Linked DNA regions of Homo sapiens: region 2 is linked to region 1. The links are contacts of gene promoters, found by promoter capture Hi-C in human tissues and cell types (Jung and others, 2019). All regions are on one chromosome and are shown on one strand. The core of a region is centred on a gene start or on the middle of the fragment in contact, and the rest is flanking DNA. Distances in the headings are between cores, read along the strand shown. Region 1 holds the start of MC3R (melanocortin 3 receptor). Region 2 has its middle 46 kb from the start of MC3R.

The links. The method cuts DNA at HindIII sites, captures the fragments that hold promoters and counts their contacts. A contact is called where the count stands out against the background at its distance.
Region 2: a fragment that was not itself captured here is called in contact with the fragment with the promoter of MC3R in region 1 in 4 of the 25 tissues and cell types used here (aorta, mesenchymal stem cells, small bowel and 1 more).

What each region holds. Positions count from the first base shown.
Region 1 is chr20:56,246,401-56,250,580 of GRCh38, forward strand. MC3R (melanocortin 3 receptor) reads left to right here and starts at 2,332. Exons shown (of 1, transcript NM_019888.3): 1 at 2,332-3,415. The coding sequence starts at 2,444. The coding sequence ends at 3,415. RefSeq lists a silencer at 1,733-1,802. The HindIII fragment of the contact is 18,891 bases long and covers 1-4,180 here.
Region 2 is chr20:56,292,917-56,297,096 of GRCh38, forward strand. No RefSeq gene overlaps it. Among named protein-coding and RNA genes, the nearest start is that of MC3R, 46 kb to the left of the region's middle. The HindIII fragment of the contact is 4,431 bases long and covers 1-4,180 here.

The sequences.
Region 1 (4,180 bases), core at 1,082-3,581:
AAAATCTCATTTTGACTGGCATTTCCCCAACTTCCTAGATGGCTTCACATCTTTTCATGTTTATTAACCATTTGCATCTTCTCTTCAGTAAATTATTATTTATATCCTTTGCCCAATTTTCTTAGGGGTAATTTATCTTTTTCTAGTTAATGTGAAAGTAGTCTTTGTATGTAAGAGATAGTAACTTTACCTATAGCAAATATTTTCATTCTGTTTTTCTTTTAACTTAGTTCAGGGTGTTTTTCCATACTAAATTTTGGATTGCTCATCTTGCTTAAGATCTTTCCACCCCAAGGATCCTAAGTTTTCTTCTATTTCCATATGCATATTTTTAATATTTCTCACACCTACACACACATACATAGTTACATGGAGAGATGGATCATTAATTCACCTAGAATGTGCGTGTGTGTGTGTGTGTGTGTGTGTGTGTGTGTGTGTAGGGATGAGAAGACTCAGTGTTTTCTGAGTTCATATGATCTACATGGGGAATCAGATCTAACATGGACCAAGTGTTAAACCATACTTCCAAGAACAACACTACATTAGTAGGCCACCTGCTAACTTCTGCCTTTCACATTTTCCAGCTTAAAACATCTCCATCCTCCCCATTATGTAAGAAAGAAGTACAGGTGTTTCTGACTGCTCCCTCTCCCATGATCCCATAACCCATCAGTTCTGAAGCTGCATTATCCAACCTTCTGAATCTCTCTGACCACCCTCCAAGTCTTCCAAGTCCCCATGGCCACTCCCTTGCTCCAGGCCACCATCATCTCACCCTGGGTCTTTGCAACACCCTCTGCCCCGGACTCCCTGGCCTACATGCTCAGTCTGTCTAATTCATTCTCCACCCTGCAACCAGGAATATTTCTAAAATGCAGACCCCATCTCATTCCTGCCCTACCTATGTTTCTTCCACAGTCCCCATTGCTGTCAAGGTACTGTCCAAATTCTCACATCTGGCTGAGGCTGTCCTTCAGGATTCAGGCACCTCTCAACTTTTTAAGAAACTGTGCAGCCTCATTTCTCAGATTGTGTCTCCTATTTCCATGCTCTGACCAGAGCAGACTACTTTCAGCACTTTCAAAAGCCCAAGATTCTTTTTCAGTGGAGCTCAACTGTGACTATGCCCCAGCTCACCTGTCAAAAATTGCAAACACACTTGTTCAGGTCTTACACCTGGGTGATTCTGACTCCGCGGGTCAAATGGGATCTCCACATCCACAATCTGTGATGACTTCTATGGCCAGGGTGCTCTCTGCCTCCAGGCTGCAGACGTGTGATTCCCTCTGCCTGGAGTCCTCTTCTACCTCCTCCAGCTCCAGCCCCCACCCCACCACCCACCCCAAACTGGATATGACCTCTTCCTCCTTGAAGTCAAAGCATAGGTGCTCCTTCCTCCAGGAACTTTGACAGTCCGGGTTAGGGCTCTTCCTCTTTGCATCCCTGGTTTCCTGGACTTTCCTGATTCAAGCATTTATTGATTCCTCTTCTTCCACCCCAGACTCTGAGTTCGGGGAAGCCTGAGATAGTGGCTGTTGTCTTGCTCACCACTGTATTTCCTGCACTCAGCAGAGACCTGACACATAGTAGGCGCTCAATAAATGTTTGCTAAACAACAACAACAAATGAATGAACTAACAAATAAACAAACAAATGAACAGATGAGTGGATGCCTGTGGCAGTTTCCATGACAAACACAAAGGGCTAAGCCAAGCCAGCAAGCAGACAGCCGTGCGGCCTGCAGAGGGCACTAGTCTGCTTCTTAATCTCCCTGCAGAATCCTCAGGGCCAGGTACCTGCTGTCAGTCAGAGAGGTGCCCGATGCTCAGTGGTCATTCTGCTGCGCTGAAGATTAAGTAGGAGTTGTTTGCCCTTGGCCAATATGAAAAACCTGAGTGTTCTCCCTTCACTTCTAGCGACAAGTAACACATCCCCTGTCTTGCCATGAAAAGAGCTGTAACTGTAGCAGCCGGTGGCAGGTTTTCTGTTCCCAGGTGGGGAAGTGAGGAGAGACAAACAGAGGGGTGAGAGGGAGACAGAAGGAAGACAGCTGGTAAGAGACCCTATGGTGTATTTTTTCTATGTAAACAAGATAAAAACTGCTCCTCCTGGAACAGCAAAGTTCTCCCTATGTCTCCAAGCTACAAACTTGCATGCTAGCTACTAACTAGCTACTCTCCCTCTCTCTCTCTCTTCCCCCTTCGCTCTTTCTCTCTGTGTGTATGTCTCTCTCTCTCTCTGTCTCTTCCTCCACCCTCTCTCACTATCTGTCTCTCTACCCTCCCCATCCTTTTATTCTAGAGGAGAATAAACTCTAAGGCCAGATTGAATGAGCATCCAAAAGACGTATCTGGAGGGAGATTTTGTCTTTCCTGTGAGCAGCAGCAGCTTCCTACGGACCCTGCTGGAGCCCCAGCTCGGATCAGCCCTTCTGACAGCAATGAATGCTTCGTGCTGCCTGCCCTCTGTTCAGCCAACACTGCCTAATGGCTCGGAGCACCTCCAAGCCCCTTTCTTCAGCAACCAGAGCAGCAGCGCCTTCTGTGAGCAGGTCTTCATCAAGCCCGAGGTTTTCCTGTCTCTGGGCATCGTCAGTCTGCTGGAAAACATCCTGGTTATCCTGGCCGTGGTCAGGAACGGCAACCTGCACTCCCCGATGTACTTCTTTCTCTGCAGCCTGGCGGTGGCCGACATGCTGGTAAGTGTGTCCAATGCCCTGGAGACCATCATGATCGCCATCGTCCACAGCGACTACCTGACCTTCGAGGACCAGTTTATCCAGCACATGGACAACATCTTCGACTCCATGATCTGCATCTCCCTGGTGGCCTCCATCTGCAACCTCCTGGCCATCGCCGTCGACAGGTACGTCACCATCTTTTACGCGCTCCGCTACCACAGCATCATGACCGTGAGGAAGGCCCTCACCTTGATCGTGGCCATCTGGGTCTGCTGCGGCGTCTGTGGCGTGGTGTTCATCGTCTACTCGGAGAGCAAAATGGTCATTGTGTGCCTCATCACCATGTTCTTCGCCATGATGCTCCTCATGGGCACCCTCTACGTGCACATGTTCCTCTTTGCGCGGCTGCACGTCAAGCGCATAGCAGCACTGCCACCTGCCGACGGGGTGGCCCCACAGCAACACTCATGCATGAAGGGGGCAGTCACCATCACCATTCTCCTGGGCGTGTTCATCTTCTGCTGGGCCCCCTTCTTCCTCCACCTGGTCCTCATCATCACCTGCCCCACCAACCCCTACTGCATCTGCTACACTGCCCACTTCAACACCTACCTGGTCCTCATCATGTGCAACTCCGTCATCGACCCACTCATCTACGCTTTCCGGAGCCTGGAATTGCGCAACACCTTTAGGGAGATTCTCTGTGGCTGCAACGGCATGAACTTGGGATAGGATGCAGGGCCATGGAAATGATCATCAGTCGGGTCACTTTTGACTTTCCATCCACGTGAGGTGTTTAGAAAGAAAAATATATATACTTAGAAAATATAAAAATGTGTTAACAGCCATGATTGTACTTGTCGTTTGTTTTTAAGTTTACAAAGCCTTTTAAAGGGGAAAATTGGTGAACAACAGATTCTCTGAAAGGATTCCAAGATGGGTAAGTCACAAACTCTGATTTCCCAAATAGTCACTGGGAGAAATCAGCGAAGGCTTCTCTGCATGCTCTCTGCACTCATTTCCAAACACCCAGGGTGTGCGACGCCTGTCTGCTCATCTGCTCCACACCCACGTCTTCATGCTCCAGGCCAGACCAGACTGAAGGATTCTCATGAACAATAAGGGTGGTTCAGATCTCTTGCAAGCAAACCTGTTACAGCTACGACCTCCTGCTGCCAGCTACACGGAGAGATAGCTTTGCACTTATAACTCCGTAGGAGACTGAGTTCTACTCTATTATTCTATTTACAGTTAGACAATTGTCTCTTTGTGAAAGGAGCAATGCTATGCCGTTTTCCCCTTTTCTTACCCCCATATCCCTTCAGTTGTCCCCACCCCCAAAGGTAGCATGAGGATGTAACCCACTTCTATTTTTCTGTTGTTGTGTTGGTGTGTGTTGTTGTTTTGTTTTTATGGATTAAATCTAAGACAACCTTCAAAACTCTAACGAAAGAGAGAAAGTGCTTTGGACAATCAGAATATACTTGTGTACGTGTA
Region 2 (4,180 bases), core at 758-3,257, 46 kb after region 1:
AAAAAAAATTCTCATATTGTTAATGAATTTGTGTTATGTGGCTCAATTATATTAATAACAAATGAATTTCAAATCCAACCTAGAAGAATTTCTTTAGGCACTAAAAATCTGACAGTGCTAGAAAAAATATATACCATCTCCAATGTGTGTGTGTGTGTGTGTGTGTGTGTGTGTGTATGTATATGTTTGCTTGTAGAGAATCATAACAGAATGATCAATAAAAGTCTTTGAAGCAGAAATATAAATTTCATTAGAGTAAGACTCTGTATGGAAATTTTTTAAATAGTAACTTCAAAGAAAAAAGAGACCATGTAAAATTTTAAATAAGTTTTTATACATTTTTAAATGAATAATGATGGGTTTGAACTCATTGGATCTATTTAAACATACAACTTTTTTATTTTAAAATGTCAATATTTATAATATGCCAGAAGTAATATTTTTTGCAAGGATTTGAACTTACAAATGAAAGTTTTGAATGTCAACCTCAAAACGGGTAAACGGGGGGCCAGGTTTGGTGGCTCATGCCTATAATCCCAGTACTTCAGAGGCTGAGGCGGGAAAATCACTCGAACTCAGAAGTTCAAGACCAACCTGGATAATATGGTGAAACCTCATCTTTACAAAAAATATAAAAACTAGCTGGGTGTGGTGGCACACACCTACATTCCCAGATGCTCGAGAGGCTGAGGTGGGAGGATGACCTGAGCCTGGGAGGCAGAGGTAGCAGTGAGCCAAGATAGCACCACTGTACTCCAGCCTGGGTGACAGAGCCCAGACCTTGTCTCAAAATTAAAAAAAAAAAAAAGGTAGAGGGAATTCATGTGTTATGAACTAAATGTTTGTGTTCCCCAAAATCCATATGTTGAAATCCTAATCCCCAATGTGATGGTATTAGGAGGTAAGTCTTTGGGGAGACAATTAGGTTGTGAGAGTGAAGCCCCCATGAATGAGATTAGTATCCTTATAAAAGAGACTCCAGAGAGCTCTCTAGCCCTCCTTCCAATGAGAAGACTGGGGTCTGCAACCTGGAAGAGGGTCCTCATCAGAACCTGACCATGCTGACTCCCTGATCTCAGACTCCCAGACTCCAGAACAGGGAGAAGTAAATTTCTGTTGTTTCTAAGCCACCCAGTCTAGGTATTTTGTTATAGCCCCCTGACTAAGCATAGCTTTTCTAAATAAGCTTGGGGTGATTTGCAAGTAAAAAACTGTGCCATTCACTTAGTCACCAGTCCCCTCCTTGGGACATGCTCTGGATTCAGGAATTATTTGGCTGACGTATTTGTTGAATTTCCTTCCAGCAGCATTGTCTCTTCAACTAGACTTGAAGCAAAGAGTCATATGCTTTGCCGTGTCCGCTTTCTCCAAAATATGGAATCAAATTGAGCCCTGACTCTAATGCCTCTTGATCCACCCTCTTGGAACCCATATATGATCTGAGTTGAAATCTCACATCTGCTGGTTATTACATGTGCACCATGAGCACTTGCTAAGCTTCTTGGGGTCACAGTTTTCTGCTTCTGTAAAACAGAGACAAGGCCACGCACCTACTGTATCTAAGTTACAGAATTTTTACAAGGCTCAAGTAGGATCATTTTTCCTTTTAGTTTTAACTCTGATTTTTCAAGTATTAACTTGCAACCTATTCGCCTTGTTCTGAGGTCACAGAGCCTCAAAAAAAAGTAATAAAAATCCCTTCCTGGAAAAAAAACCAATGAACCCTAAAACAAGTGAACCTATTCCCCTTTTCTTGCACAATAAGCCAAATATGGCCTAAAATTCCTTCACAAAACCCACTGATACTGTTTGGCTGTGTCCCCACCCAAATCTCATCTTGAATTGTAGCTTCCATAATTCCCATATGTCATGGGAGGGACCCAGTGGGAGATAGTTGAATCATGGGGGAGGGTCTTTCCTGTGCCGTTCACATGATAGTGAATAAGTTTTACAAGATCTGATGGTTTTATAAAGGCCAGTTCCCCTGCACAAATTCTCTCTTGTTTGCTGCCATGTAAGATGTCCCTTGCTCTTCCGCCATGATTGTGAGACTTTCCCAGCCATATGGAACTGAGCCAATTAATTACCAGTTTATAAATTACCCAGTCTTGGGTATGTCTTTATCAGCAGCATGAGAACAGACTAATACATCCACCCTCTCTAAGCTACTACCCATTAATCTGTAAGCCTACTTTCCCTCTGATGTGTTTAATTATTGATTATTGAGTATGAAGTGTTTTAACCATTAAGCTTTTGATGATACCACCCTCCAGGGGGGGCAGAGCTTCACACACAGGGTCCGCTACCAGAAGGGAGGGAAGATGACACATTTTCCCTGCATCCTGGGGAAATGCGTAGGCTCCTGAACTGGAAACAAAACTGAATCCATCAAGGCCTCAGACCAAAATGCGGGGTGGAGGCACGAGGATCGGCCAGGAAGAGATCACACTTATTTCCCAGAACCCAAGAGGTGTATCACAGATCTGCCGTCACTCATGTGGGCAAGCACAACTGCTCTCAGGTAGCAGCAATAACCTACCTGTGTCAGCGCAGGACATTCAGAATGCAGGCACTGCCACCTGCTTTGATTTATCTCATCCCAAGCAAGGCAAACAACCCAAACAGAAACTCCAGACATTCCCTCTGAAATTCTATATATGGGTTTGCTGTCAAGTCAAAGTTTGGGACTAACTGTGCTCGCATCGTTTTGGGATGAATGGACACTAACATGAACAAAAGGTGAGGATGGTCCAATCTTAGAACAGAAATGGGAGGATGGATGAAAAATCTTTTGAACATAAAATCAAAATTTAGCAAAGAGCCTCTGAGGTCTCCCCTAGGCCCTTATAAGCTCTGCATCTACCACCTCCTAGCTAAGTGACTTTGGACACATTATTTTAGCCCCTCCCCAAGCTTGTTTCCTCATCAGTAAAATGAGATAACTATAGTGTGCACCTCAAGAGGCTGTGGAAGGCTTACATGAGATAAATCCAGGTAAAGTGCACAGCAATTCCTGAAGGATAAATAGAAAGTACTTAACACACATCAGCTTGGGGACGGAGATAGTGACATTTATTCATCCACCTAATGTTCCACTACTGCCAACCTCACTCCAATAACAATGAACTGCATTGATCTCCAAAACACGGCACAAACTGTCATGCTCCTACGTAATTTCTTATGTGGCTCACTCTGCTCAGAATCCCTTGAGCTGGCTAAGTCCTACTGGGCTTTCAAGACTCAGGTCCTGTGTCACTTCCTCCAGGAAGACAGTGGTACATACTCTTCTTCCTTCTCATCGCCTCATAGCACCTGGCACATAACTTCATTACATTCATGTGGATCCTTTAGATTCCAAGAGGCAGAAACACTACTCAAAATGACTTAAATTGAAGAGAAAGTCCAAAGGGTAGACATGACTTCAGGCACAGCTGGAAATAAGAACACAGATGATTTCAGCAGGAGCCTCGGGCTGGTGTCACTCTCAGGCACCTCTCCCCTGCCAAAGCAAGGGTACTGCCAGCAGTTTCAGGCTTCCATCTTTCCAGCTTACCCACCCCAGAGGATGATGCCTGTCTTTTGTGATGGTCCTAGTAGTAGGTCCAATACTGACACTCATTGGCTTAAATCGTGTTCTCATCCTGGAACAATTACTGCACCAGGAGGCAAAATGTTTTGACTGGCCACACCTAAGTCATATGCCAACCCTTTGATCTAAACTGGAGGGCCAGCCACATCCAAGCTACACGATCTGCAAGTTGGAGTATATGGGGCCCCAAAGGAAAGTAGCAGCTTATAACCTGAAAAGGAGGCATAGATGGCAGGAAATCAAAAAAGCAAAAGCTCAAACACCAGATGCCAAAAACCCATCATCCTACTAACCACAACCTACTCACCATTGGTGTGCACACCCCTCCCCGCCGTTGAAAAGTGTTTCCCTAGGTTGGAAGCCATGTCTTGGTCATGCTTCCCCAGGGCCTAGGAGAGGGCCTGGCATAACAGAGGTATGCAGTAAACATTTGTGGAATAAACAAGATGGCTTCGGTTCAACAGTCTTTGGATTGTACCATAGATAAGAAAATAGAAAATAGAACTGGAACTCAAATATCAACCTGGAAAATGTCAAGTATCAAAATTCTCAAAGGGCAGAAATCAGTCTTCCTGGAACCTTCTTGGAAAA